Linked DNA regions of Homo sapiens: region 1 is linked to region 2. Evidence: promoter capture Hi-C in 16 types of primary human blood cells and fetal thymus (Javierre and others, 2016). All regions are on one chromosome and are shown on one strand. The core of a region is centred on a gene start or on the middle of the fragment in contact, and the rest is flanking DNA. Distances in the headings are between cores, read along the strand shown. Region 1 has its middle 17 kb from the start of OLFM1. Region 2 holds the start of LINC02907 (long intergenic non-protein coding RNA 2907).

Region 1 (6,403 bases), core at 1,790-4,289, 270 kb before region 2:
GCTGGGGGGAGACACATGCACGGGGGGGAGACACATGCAGCGGGGAAGACACACGCGGCAGGGAGCGGTAGGGACACAGGCAGAGGGGAGAGACACATGCAGGGTTGGGGGAGACACATGTCGGGGGGAGACACATGCAGCGGGGAGACACATGCGGGGGGGAAGACACATGTGGGGAGGGGAGACACATGCGGGGAGGAAAACACACATTGCGGGAGACACATGTGGGGGAGAGACACGTGCAATGGGGGGGAACACATGCAGGAGGGGAGACACATGCCGGGGGAGACTCATGCTGGGGGGAGACACATGCACGGCGGGGAGACACATGCAGTGGGGAAGACACACGCGGCAGGGAGCGGTGGGGACACAGGCAGAGGGGAGAGACACATGCAGGGTTGGGGGAGACACATGCGGAGGAGCAGGGGACATGGAGATGCAGCAGAGACAGCTTGAAGGTGCTGGCCTGGAAGACTGGAGCAGCCACAGGCCTAGGAACACCCAGGGCCTCCAGAAGCTGCAGGAGGCAGGAAGGATCCTCCCCTAGAGCCTCTGGAGGGAGGACAGCCCTGCCAACACCTTCGTCTTGGACTTCTCCCCTCCAGAACTTGGAGAGAATGAATCTCCGTTGCCTTAAGCTTCTCAGGTTGGGGTATCTTCTCACCATCAGCCCTGTCTGATGTAATAACGCTCTCTCTCCCTCACTAGGGCTCTGTTTGCCTTCAGGGAGCTCTAGTGAGGGAGAGAGAGCCTTACTCCATCACACAGTCAGAAAAGCTAAGAAAACAAAGCAGAGTCCAGGGCCTGAATGAAGCCGGGGTGGGATTCACATGGCGTCAGGGACAACAGGCTCCTGGCAGGAAAGCAGGGATGTCCCCAAGCAGCCTCAGGGCAGGGCAGTGCAGCCGAACAGGACTGAGCGAGGGGAGAGAAAGGGGGTGGGATATGAGAGGTGGTGGGGACCTCATGACAGAGGACGGAGGGCTCTCAGCCCTGTGGGAAGCCTCTGCCGGGTCAGGACCTCAGGGAAGATTCTGTAAATCCACCCTGGCCGCAGGGTTAGGGAGGCGGCAGGGAGACTGGAGGATGCAGTTGAGTGGTTGATGACTGTGTGGGGCGGTGCTGGATAATTCAGGTTGGCCCGAAAGACTTGCGGGTGAGTTGGATGTGAGATTTAAAAGGAAGCGGGTTGCCCGGCATAGCTCCTGGAATTTGGGCCTGGGCAACAGGAAGGGCGGAACTGCTGTTCCCTGGACTGGGAAGGTGGGGCAGGAGCTGGCTGGGTCTGGGGTAGGCTACAAAGAGCCGTGCTGCAGACTCGCCAGGTGCACAAGCACGTTAGATACCAAGGGACACTGTCAGGTGGTGCAGTATGAGCTGGGAATTCAGAGAAGAGGCTATGCTGAGATGTAAGTGAGGGGAGCACAGCAATGGGAGTTCCTGTCCTGCGCTGGAGGAGGCACCTGGCGGGGGGCCATGGAGGACAGAGCCTTGAAACACCCAACCATTAGAAGGTGGGAAGGTGCAAGCCTGGCCAACATGGTGAAACCCCGTCTCTACTAAAAATACAAAAATTAGCTGGGTGTGGTGCATGCACCTGTAGTCCCAGCTACTTGGGAGGCTGAGGCAGGAGAATCATTTGAACCCGGGAGGCGGAGGTTGCAGTGAGCCAAGATCTCGCCACTGCATTCCAGCCTGCAGACAGATTGAGACTCCATCTAAAAAAAAAAAAAAGAAAGAAAAGAAAGTGGGAAGGCGGTGAGGCCCAGCACAGCACAGAGCCTGGGGAGGAGCAGCCAGGGAGGGACGAGGGCACGCAAGGCAGGGGCATGCACCATCCAGAGGAAGCGAGGCTTCCAGGGTAGAGGGAGGAGAGTCTGTGCCGGGTGTCGCTGGTTCCCTCCAGTCAGATGAAGGCTGGCATTGCCACCGTTGCGTTTGATGACGAGGAAGTCGCTGGTGAGCTTGCCCAGAGCTGTGTGGAGGAGCAGCCTGGAGAGATGGGATGTGGACATTCATCTCTGCAAAGGAGGACAGAGAGGTGGGGCGTGGCTGCAGGGGATGAAAGGAAAGACATTTCTTTGGTGAAGATGGGCAAAAACGGCAACATGTTTTCGACGAGAGGACAGGTGTGGGGAGACAGAGCAGGGAGGGGGCAAGCTCCCGGGCCCACGGAATGGTGGTCCTGCATGGGGGCAGAGATGATTCACCTCCTGCAAGGAGCAAGGCAGGGCCAGGCAGGAGTCTGGGTGGTGGATCTTGTGATGGGAGCTGAGAGTTGGGCTGGGCCTTCCTCGGTGCAGTGAGAATCATGTCATCTGCCGGGGGAGAGGTGTGAGGAGGAGGGCCAAGGGGCAGGGGAGAGGTGTGAGGAGGAGGGCCAAGGGGCAGGGGAGAGGTGTGAGGAGGAGGGCCAAGGGGCAGGGGAGAGGTGTGAGGAGGAGGGCCAAGGGGCAGGGGAGAGGTGTGAGGAGGAGGACGGAGGGGCAGGGGAGAGGTGGGAGGAGGAGGGCCGAGGAGCAGGGGAGAAAGAGTTAGAGCCCCTCCAAGGGAGTTGGGGCTGTGGGCAGGGGGAGGCAGAGACAGGATTTCAGGACTCCCTTGGGCTGGGAGGTCATGAATTCAAACAGGGACCAGTCCACAAGGCGGTGTGATTTCCCTGGCCCTGCTCAGCTGTCAGGGAGCAGGGAGGGGTGGACAGAGAGTTGGGTGTCGCCAGGAAGACAGGAGGATGGGCAACGCCAGGGAACTGAGAGCACAGGAGAGACTTCTGGAGGAATCACAGCTGGACAAGCAGGGAAGTGACGAGGGGGAGACCACGGAGCAGGGTTTGGTGCTGCCTGCCCCGGCTGAACACCGGCAAGTGCACGACTGACTCCCGTGAACATCAAATGTGCTCCTAGGCTGCAAGGATTTAGTGAGAGAATGGCATAAGCTCAGCGCGTGCCCAACACACAGTGGGGCTGAGAACTCCAAACCACCCAGGTGGTCCCAGAAGCAGAGCTGGCCACCCTTTCCTTGCTTGACGGCTTCCAAACAGAAGCAGCTGGTTGCCGTGCACAAGTCCAGGGAGCTGATAAGGAGGGGCAGCCTGGGTCCTCTGTGAGCCTATTCACCACCGCCCCAGGCCGGTGTCCCCAGGGGCCAGGGAGGCCATCTGGGTGCTCGCTCGGCTCAGCTGGATTTGGAGAGGGTGAAGCCGGCAGCCTGAAGGCTCAGGGCACAGGGAGCCGATCGCGTGGATTTTGGGTCCCATTTGCTAGGAAATTCGCAGAGAGGAGGGGAGAGTTAGTGCCGTTGCCTTGGCAACGCTCTGTCACATTCTAATGGGGCTCAGCAGTAGAAGGAGGCTTGTCTTAGAGGAGCACAAAGCAGATCGATTTGCTGGTGTCCTGAGGCAGCTCAGCGGGAAAGCGGCTGCTTCCTGGGTGCCTGCTGCCCAAGCTCCATCAGGAAGGCAGCAGAAGAGGGGCGGGTGGGGGTGTCCCAGGACCCACGGTACCCACCAAAGAGTGAGGCGGGCTGATGCTGGGTACCCACTTGGCCTCATCCCAAGGTAGCTCAGGATCTCAGAGCTGGGGTGGAGGAGGTGGGCAGCTGCCCCAGACCGACTGGAGCTTTGGGACCCAGGCCCCACACCCACCTCTACATGGAGCCTCTGCTCTAGGGAGCTTCCTGATTTTGCAGACAGGAACGCCATGGGATGAGGAAAAGACAAGCATCTAAATCTGTCAGCAGTGAGGTGTGTTGGTGTCACGGGCTGTGGCCTCCCTCTACCTGAACCTCAGCCAACCCCAAAGGGGTGGACACAATGAAGAACTCGGAGCAACCTCCTCGAGGGGCCCGAGTGGATGCCAGATTCCCCAAAATCCAGAACTAGAGCCAAAGAGCTAGGAGCTTGGGTTGCAGAAGCAAATATAAATATTAAAAGTACGGACAAGATACAAATAATACAAGCAGTACAGATTGAGAGGAGGGACAGGGTGGCCAGAGAAAGAGGAGCTGAATATTACCCAGGCTTTCAAAAGAGGAAGTGGGCGTTATTGTCAAAAACGGGACCACGGGATAGAGAATGTCTAATTCCAAACAGTTAACGGTCTTCATAGACTTTTCCTTCTCAATCTTAGAAGGTTCTTCTAGGAAACAATGCCTCGCATGGTGAAGATAAACGCGCTTGAAGTCAGCAGCATCTTCGGCTTGACTTTGTTCCCCTTCCTTCTTTACGTTGCAGTTCAATCTAATATTTCTGGGCTGCAAAGCCTGGGAAGGATGATGTCATCTTTTACACCAGCATTTGCCCATCCTTCCTATTTCTTTCTAGCCATTGCCACGTGCCAGGCACAGTTCTAAATATTTGGCACGGCTGTGGCTCCCTGACGCCACTCAGCTGGGCACTGAGGTGGGGCTGCCATCATCAATCCACCCCCAGGGAGATAAATGGGGCCCGGAGAGGGTGACTGGCCCAGGGCCTCAACAGCTCCCAAGAGGGGGGCTCTGGCTTGGCACCCAGGCCATTTGGTCTTAGAGGCCACCCTCTTACGTTTGCACATTTTGCATTTCCTGATCACGTGCACAGAGGAATGCCTGCAGAGCAGCCCCATGGTCAACACTGGCTATTCTGGGTAGGGGGCTTTCGTTACTTTTACATTCTTCTTTGTATTTTATCTTTTTAAAGAAATACAATAATAAGTCTGTATTTTTTTTTAAAAAAAAAACAGCTTTATTAAGATATAGTTTACAGGTGGTGGCTCATGCCTGTAATCCCAGCACTTTGGGAGGCCGAGGCGGGCGGATCACGAGGTCAGGAGATCGAGACCATCCTGGCTAACATGGCGAAACCCCGTCTCTACTAAAAATACAAAAAATTAGCTGGGCGTGGTGGCGGGCGCCTGTAGTCCCAACTACTCGGGGGGCTGAGGCTGGAGAATGGCATGAACCTGGGAGGCGGAGCTTGCAGTGAGCTGAGATCGATCCACTGCACTCCAGCCTGGGCGACAGAGCGAGACTCCGTCTCAAAAAAAAAAAAAAAAAAAAAAATATATATATATATATGTTTTACATACCATACAATTCACTCACTTAAGGTGTACAATTCAATGGTTTTGGTATATTATATTACTATATTTTTAAAACTGTGGTTACATATGCATAACATAAAATTTACCATTTTACCCATGAAGTGCACAAGTTTGTGGCACTGATGACATTCACCATATTGTGCCACCGTCACCACTGTCGACTTCCAAAACTTTGTCATTATTCCAGGCTTAAACTTGTACCCACTCACCAATCATGTCCCAACCTCCTTCCCCTTAGCCCCTGGTAACCACTAATCTACTTCCCAGCTCTGTGAATGTGACTACTCTAGGGACCCCATAAAAGCAGAATCCTGCAGTACTTGTCCGTCAGTGACCGGCTTATTTTGCTGAGGATAATGTCTTCAAGCTTCATCTGTGTTGTAGCATGTGTTGGAATTTCCCTTCTCTTCATCGCTGGTAACAGTTCATTGGATGGAGCACATCTGTCTGTTGATGCATCTGTTGATGGACACAGGGGTTGTTCCCACTTTTTTGTTTGTTTGCTTATTTGTTTTATTAAGATGGTGTCTCGTTCTGTCCCCCAGGCTGGAGTGCAATGGCGTGATCTCGGCTCACTGCAACCTCCGCCTCCCTGGTTCAAGCGATTCTCCTGCCTCAGCCTCCTGACTAGGCGGGACTACAGGTGCCCATCACCACACCTGGCTAATTTTCGTATTTTTAGTAGATACTGGGTTTCACCATGTTGGCCTGGCTGGTCTCAAAGTACTGACCTCAGGTGATCCACCCGCCTCGGCCTCCCAAAGTGCTGGGATTACAAGCGTGAGACACCACGCCCTGTCTGTTCCCACTTTTTGGCTGTTATGAATAATGCTGCCATGAACGTAGGCGTGTACATATCCGCTCCAGTCCCTGCTTTCTCTTCCCTTGGGTGTGTACTCAGAAGTGGAATTGCTGGGTCACCTGGTGTGTAACTTTAAAAATAAAAACCATCCTTGCTAAAATTGGATCTGAGGCCTCAGTCCACTCAAGGAAATCAATGCAGCCTTCCTCCCCAGCCCACAGGAACAAAACCCCAAAGACGGGGGTCGCACTCCAGCTCTATGGCCATGTCACAGGTCTCCCAGAGCCCAGACATTTATTAGCGGCCACTTGGAGCATCAATGTGAAGGCTGAAGGAGAAACTTGGGTCGAGGCCTGGGGTGCTGCGCGTGCCCCATGCACGTAGAGTTCTTAAGCATATAGAGTGTGTTTATTCCTGCACTGGATCTCCTCAGTAGCCCCGAGACCTGCAGTATATGGACCATTCATTCCCATTCGACAGATGTGGGGACTGAGGCTCAGACAGCCACTACCCGGAGATCCCT
Region 2 (7,178 bases), core at 2,228-4,727:
CCGTCCCCGGGTCCCTATGTGTTCACCCACATGTGTAAGGCTGCATGAGACACAGGAAAGGGGACACCTCGCCAGGAGCTCCCCAGGTGCACCAACTTCTGCCCTTGAACTGCCCCCCTCCCGACAGGAAGAAGGCTGGACCACCTCACTCCCGGCTTCTGGGGTCTTCCCGGGTGAGGGCTGGCTACCAAGTACGCTACTGCAAGAGACAAGTAGCTCTTTTGCCCAGAAAATAAAGGGCTTAGAAGGGCAAATTGATTCTGGTGCTGCTTAAAGAGAAATAACCGCTTCCGCCCGGGATTTTAATTACGGAGCTCTGCAAGAGCTGTGAACTCTGTTTTTCTTCATTATTTTCGGAACTAGTTCTCCTCCTTCTCCCCCTACTTCCCACCACCACGTCCCTGTTTGCTCCTCGACCTTCTCTTGTGTTTTCCAACCCAGTGACTCAAAGCAAACCGGAGTTGCTGCTGGATGCTTTCAGGGGCTGAATTTTAGCATTCTATTAAAATTTCAATGGATGTCGTGTGAGTTGGGGAATTTCCTATCTGCAGAAACCTTTGCCTTCATTCTAGTTAAGAAAATAAAAAACAAAAAGCCTGTTCCCTGTGGCTCTGTAATCCAAACGCTATAAATTCCAAAGAATAAAGGGAGCTTGGCCCCCCCTCGAGACCCCCTTTCCCTGGCATGGCTGGCAATCAGGCCTCTAATTACGTTTCCTGTTTGCAACTGGCAAATAAAATATTTAGGCAGCCTACACTGAGTGTTCCAGGCCCGGCCCGGCCCGCAGCTGCACTGCCCCCAAACAGGAAGGCATACAGACAAAAAAATTAAATGAAACAAATGGCAGATAAATACAGGCGCGTTGTTTTAAAAATTCATAAACACTAGCCTCTGATGCAATTTATTTTGGTTAACTAGTGAAAAACCCATGTAACTTACTGAAGAGATTCGATTGAAGCATGATTTTTCAAGAAATGCCATTGAATGGCTTCTCACCATGTGTGCTGTGGCTCAGCAGGCTCCCAGAATGGGGTGTCCCCCAGGTCCCATCAGAACCTAACAAACAGACAAAGTGGCCAGCAACAGCTGCACAGGGGCTGCACGGACGGGGCGTCCGCTCTGCTGCTGACCAGATGGGCAGGCCCAATAAACAACCCCTCAGTTTCTCCATCTGTGACTCGGGAGCCATCAGCAGAAAGCTCTTGCAGGGCTGTGGGGAGCTCAGTGCACCCATGAGGGCATCACAGGCACGGTGCCCTGCACCTCAGGGGTGCCCTGGGCGGGCAAGGTCTTCTTCCAGCCTGACTGCCCCAAGAAAGGGATAGGGTGCTTTGCACAGACCCCAAATCCACAGTCCAAGCTGCGGTGTAGTTTTGCTGAGATTCTGGAAATTCCTTTCTATTTTGCAAAAAGAGGAGCCAAGGACCAGCACCAGAGGGGTGGCCCGGGGCCCAGGCACCCACCCAACTGAGCTGCGGCAGAGGGCAGCGGGCTCTCTGCAAACTGTAACAAGTTGGCTCTGTGGCCCTGTCTGTCAGAGGAGGAGGCTGTTCCCAGGAGACGTGGGCTCCACGGGAGACGCGCCGGCTGCGCTCAGCGGGGAGAGGTTGTCGCTCCAGTCCCTAGTGGAGGTCTGTTTGTGCAGGAAGCCGTCATCAGCAGAGAGGCTTTTATAGAAAGCCTCACCATTCCCCCTGCACCTAATTTGAGATGAAGGAACTCATTTGCTACGGAAGGCTCTAGAAAGTGGCTGCTGGCATGGTGGCAGGTGTGTGGGGATGGGAGAGGTGGCAAGAGGTCCAGGGACCCAGGCAGGATGGCCACTTATGGGTGTCCAGGCACCCACAGCTGACCCATGGGGCCCAAGCAAGAAGGACGCCAAGGCCACAGCGGGTGGAAGGGACCTGGTGGGAGACCCAGCTGAGGACAGCAGAGGCTGAGGACAGCAGAGGCTCAGCCCCACTTCCCCTGTGGTCCCTCACAAAGCCCCTCCCTCTTTCCAGACTCCTCCCCTCAGAACCTTCTCCGTCCGCCCACCGGCCAAGGCTCAGAGGGCTCTGGGGAAGGCGTGCGGGGTGGCAGGGCCCACCCAGGGTCCGGGTGCACCTGCAGGGCAGGCCCCGAGCTGCTCACCTCCCTGCTTTCCTCAGCCTCGAAGCAGCCAGGGCTCCTGGGCAGGGCGCCACAGCAGCCTCTATTTACCCCTCTGTAAAATGGGAAGAAAGTTCTCCCCAGGTGAGGCTGTCTCATGACTAAATCAGACACTCCAAGCTGATGCTCTGAAGCCACAGGTGTCCCTGCATCCCCATCACTAATACTGTCCTCTTTCCTACCATGGACAGGGGGCTCAGCGCCCAGGAAAAGAGCTCCACACTTTTCTAGCATCCCCTCGGGAGCTCTGGTTCCATAGAAGGGGGCTCCCAGTGTCCGATGGGGCTGAGCACAGCATGCAGCTGGGGCCCCCGTGTCCTAGGGATCCGAGAGCACACTGTTGGGCAGCAGCTCCTGGACGGGGCCCACCAGCCTTTGTGCAAACCAAGAAGGAGCTCGTCCCCTGGTACCAGGGCACCCAGCTGGCAAGCACAGGTGGCTGGACCCTGGCTCCCTCATTGGCACCTGCGGGGCCACATCGTGACCTTTGTGGGCCCCAGACACCATTCCCCCTGCACCTGATGGATCCATCGCTTTGCCCAGCCTTGGCTCTCGAGGTGACCTTCAAGGACTGCTGCAAGGACTGCCCCGCCAAGGAGCCTGGCACAGGCTGTTGGACACAACCCCAATTACTGACAGGTTCGCAAAGACACCCAAGCTGCAGGGCCTTGGCAGACGGGTAAGCAGCCTGATCTCGTCCAGAAATCTTGTCCACGTGCACCTCCCGGGAGCCCTCCTTCGGAGATGGCCGAGGCCTGATGCCCCAGAAGTCACTGTGTCCAGCTCCCACCTCTCCTGCCCCTCAACCCCTCAGTTCCTCCCTGGGAACCACCTGTCAGCTGCCCCAGCCTGGATTTGTGTTTTCACCCGGGAGTGACTCGGGGCCTCTGGTGGCCTGGGGAGATGGGGGAGCTTCCTGGGTCCAGGCACCAGCAGTCACCTCTGTCCCCAAGGAAGGCCCTGCCAAAGGGCCGGGCACCAGGTGCTCCACGTTTAGGCCAGGACTAGTTGATGGCTGCCCAGGCTCCCAATGACACATTCCCCTCCTCCGGGGTTGTCCCTGCTGGGCCTCTGTGCCAGCTGACAGCCAGAAGTCTGGTGATCGAGCCCGGTGGGGTCTCTGCCTGGGGAGGGATCCCTGGGTTTTGTCCCCATGCAGTGGGGGCTCAGGAAGTGCCCCCCAGCTTCCTCCTGCCTCTCAGCATTCCCAGCTGCCAGCACAGAGAGGCTGGGCTCAAGTCTTCTCCAAGGCCAGTGCCACCCTCCACCAGGTCCCACTGAGCCTCATGGGGCTGGTGGAGCCACCTGCCCACCTCAGCACTGCATCTCCAGCCAGGGCTGAGTGGCAGTGTGGGCACCGCGGCCCGGGACGACAGCCTGGGCTCAGAGTCAGGCTTGTGGCTTCGCCTCTCAGCTTGCGTCTCCTCCCCTGTGGGATGGGGGATTCCGTGGCACCCCCATGATGAACAGGATGCCATGGGCCTCAGCCCAGGGCAGACCTCAGTGTCCTTCCTGTGGCCGCTGCTGGAGGTGCGTGACCACAACACAGGTGTGTATCGATGTCACTTTGCGTCATGCCTGTGGGGAGGGCCCTCTCGCCCCATGGTCTCCATGGGGCCTCATCACACCTGGGAGGTAACTGGGGCATCTCAATTTTACAGATGAGTAAATGGAGGCTCAGAGCAGTTACAGGCTGAGGCTGAGACCTGGGCAGGTCTTTGTCATCTTGGAGTCCAGCACATACACAGGGCTAGCCTCCAATGGGCTAAAGGGAGCTGCCTCCTATACCTCCCTGTCCCCAGACACACACACAGAACCCCCACATATGCACAAGAGCACACGGCCACAGGAGTGTGTGCAGGTGTGTGCATGCATGCATGCGCATGCACACACATCCTTGCACAGAATGCACAAGGCACACACAGGCACAGGCGTGTGCACACACGTGTACACACACACATGCCTGCATGCATACCTCCCGGCTCCACAGAGGGGAGGGGGCATTTCCCAGGCAGGCTATGCTTCTCCAGCAGTGAGCGAACAAAATCTGTGCTCTGGGTGCCCAGAGCCCGGCAATGAGGGGATCTCACACCCTCCAGGGAGGGGACTCGTCCCCGCCACTGTGCTGACGCCTGGGTCTCCAGAGACCCTCCTGGAACTCCGCCAGGCCTTCCTGGGTTCCAGACAGGCCCGCCACGGGCATGACGCAGCGCCATCTAGCGGACAGCAGGGCTGCAGCGTGGACAGAACGGCCGGACGCCCAGTCCTGGGCTGGCGGCTGAGGAACAGCCTCACAGGGCAAGAGGGCAGGCAACACCTGCATCTTTCCGGCATAAGAACCTCAAGAAAAGCAAAGGAATATAAGCCTGTGTTCTTTGGAGCCACCGAAATCTCTGTTCTCATGGCAGTCGCTGAAAGTTTAAGGGAGCCGCCACCGCCCCAATGGGGTTGGTTTCTTTCTTCCCTGTTTTTAAAGATCTTTTAAAATGTCTAGAGAGACCCTGGGATCCAGTGCTGGACGGATGATGCAGGTTTGTGTGCATTTGGGTTCTTGCCCCACCCTCAGCCTCAGCCACAGCCACAGCATGGCTCCCTGGTGGTCTCGGGAGCAGGTGAACAGGGAGGTCCTGCTGTCGGTGCAGACCCCGCTCTCACGTCAGCCACTTTGCTGGGTAGGAATGAACTGAGACACTGCAGGGCACCCGCTAAGCCCACATCAAGCTCTAATTCCACAGTTATTTTGCAAAGAGGATAATGTTCCCCTGAGGACTCGCTGGATCATCTGCTCTCGGCCAGGGTGGCTGCAGGGCTGTGGGCAGCTGGTGCCTCTAGACAAGACATCTTCACCCCAAAACCCCAGGCCTGAAGTCCCAGGACCCCTTTCTCACCACAGTGACCACCAGGTGGCAGGTCAGGTGCAGAGGGGCCCTCTGCACCCCCAACTCTCAGGGGGATGGGACACCCACCACCCCTCAGGGCCTTCATCCCTCCTGTAAGTAGAGGCTTGCCTTTTGGATACCATGGCAGGGATCTCACATTCATGCCACACAGCAATTCGTGGGGACCTCAGAGATACGCGGGGAGGGCAAACAAGGCCCGCATCTGGAGTACAGCAGCGGGCTTGGCTGGAAGGATGTAAAGGGCACAGGCCGTCTGTCTCTACCCACAGCCCCTAGAGCCTGCAGCGTCGTGCTGCTGGTGAGAAAGACGGCGGCACCATCACATGCGAGAGACAGCTGTCTGTCGAGAGCCTGCTTGGGCTCCCAGGCTCCCTCATCGCCTGACACCCCCACGTGGGGAGGGGGCGATGACCTTTCACGTAGAGGAAGTTGAAAGCTGCTTTTTTCTTTTTGAATCTCATCTCCACTCAGGGCCACACAGAGAGGCTATTGTGTGTCACTTGCTGGGTTAGGAACAGACGGATCAGGGCTTCTATGCTGCGTCTGCCTGGTCCTGGGAGAGAGAAACTCACACAACCATCTGCCTGGAAGACCTGGGCTTCTCAGGCTAGAGGGTCTGCACATGTAGGTGTGTGTGCATGCATACATATGCCTGCGTGTGGATGTCTGTGCTTCACACAAACAAGTGTACTTGTGGGCATATGTGTGTGTGTGCCTGCATGTGCAGCTCTGGGTATGTGTGTGTGCGCATGCCCCTGAGTCTCTCTGCATGTGATGCATTTGTGCATGTGTGTGCCTGTGTGCCCGGGTCTGTGTCTATATATATGCATGCATGGATATGCATACGTATGTGCATTTCTGCACATGTGTGCGTATGCCTGTATGTGCCTGGCTATGTGCACACACATGTGAATGTCTGAGCAGCTCCAGAGGGAGGGCCACCACCCTGCATGGTGGACATTAGTTTGAGCCTGTGAGGACCAGTGTCCCCCAAAGCCCCTCAACTACAGCCCAGCCCAACCCAACCCGGAGCAGATCACAGGCCCCAGAGACATCTCCAACCCTCACACATGGTTCCCAAACCCGGGCTATCCTTCACTCTGCAGGGGCGGGCCAGCCCTGCCCACTGCCAGGGACCCGCTCCAAGGCGCCTGCAGGAGGGCTGTGGGCGACAGTGTGGGCGCCCACCAGCAGGAGGGCCTGTCATGGTCTGTGCACGAAGCTGGTGCGCTGTCTTCTCCAGGAACTCGCACCTTCGCTCCCCCTCCCCTGCCAGCCAACACTTTCAGGTTTCTGCCATAAAAGAGAAAAAAATCTCCCTCCCTCTCTACCCGCTCCGCGCCTGCTCCTTCTCCACTTTTTGCAGATCAAACAGCATGCATGGAGTCGAGCCTGCTGGCTCTGTTCCGAGCTGCACTTTGGGCATCCGTGGGCTGCCTTGCTCCTTGTGGGGTGGCTTCAAGAGCAGGTCCCAGGTGTGCCTGCAGCAGTGCCGACACCCCTGAGAACACAGCGCACCCCAGCTTTCGGCGCCAACCACACAGCCAGCAACTGGGCTTGGAAGCTTCCCTGAGGTCGACGCTGCCTGGAAATGGACTTTGCTGCCTGCATTCAGGCCAGGGGCCATGTTTGCTCCCCCATTACAAGTTGGCCTCATATTAACATGTCTGAGGACTAAGGCTGGTATTCTAGAACACGCCTTTCACTGATTGTGTTAAATAAAAGAGAAAGATGAAAAAACTCAGGAGAATTGGCGGTACCCGCTGTCCCCGTTTCTCCCCTCCCACCAGCTCCACGGCCCACTCCAATCTGGCGCCCAGGCCCGGAGCGCCTCCACCCCCAGCAGCTCCTCCTGGGCCAGGGACCAGTCTCGTCCCACGCCTCTGCAGCCCTGGGGTCACCACTGGCCACTCCCTTCAAGAAGCACACTCAGGTCTGGGCTTGGATGATGCCCCTGGTGGCCCTGGGGCCTCCCTGGCACCTCCTCCTCTGGCCTCACCCTCAGGCCAACCTGTCACACCCGGCTTCAGCTCCCACCTGCCCGAGGAGAATGCTCTCAGGCCGCCCTGCAGGCTCTGGGCCGGGGCTCTGCCTCCTCCTCCCAAAGACCCAGCGAGTCCAGACTTC

Evidence for each region. Contacts are between HindIII fragments. The CHiCAGO score rates a contact against its expected background, and 5 or more counts as called.
Region 1: a fragment that was not itself captured here is called in contact with the fragment with the promoter of LINC02907 in region 2 in 1 of 17 cell types (endothelial precursors); the score reaches 5.2 in endothelial precursors.

Annotation. Positions count from the first base shown.
Region 1 is chr9:135,067,113-135,073,515 of GRCh38, forward strand. No RefSeq gene overlaps it. Among named protein-coding and RNA genes, the nearest start is that of OLFM1, 17 kb to the right of the region's middle. RefSeq lists an enhancer at 2,783-3,680. The HindIII fragment of the contact is 4,807 bases long and covers 637-5,443 here.
Region 2 is chr9:135,339,772-135,346,949 of GRCh38, forward strand. LINC02907 (long intergenic non-protein coding RNA 2907) reads left to right here and starts at 3,478. Exons shown (of 3, transcript NR_171012.1): 1 at 3,478-3,700; 2 at 4,251-4,682; 3 at 5,523-6,791. RefSeq lists an enhancer at 2,519-3,231. The HindIII fragment of the contact is 15,144 bases long and covers 1-6,613 here.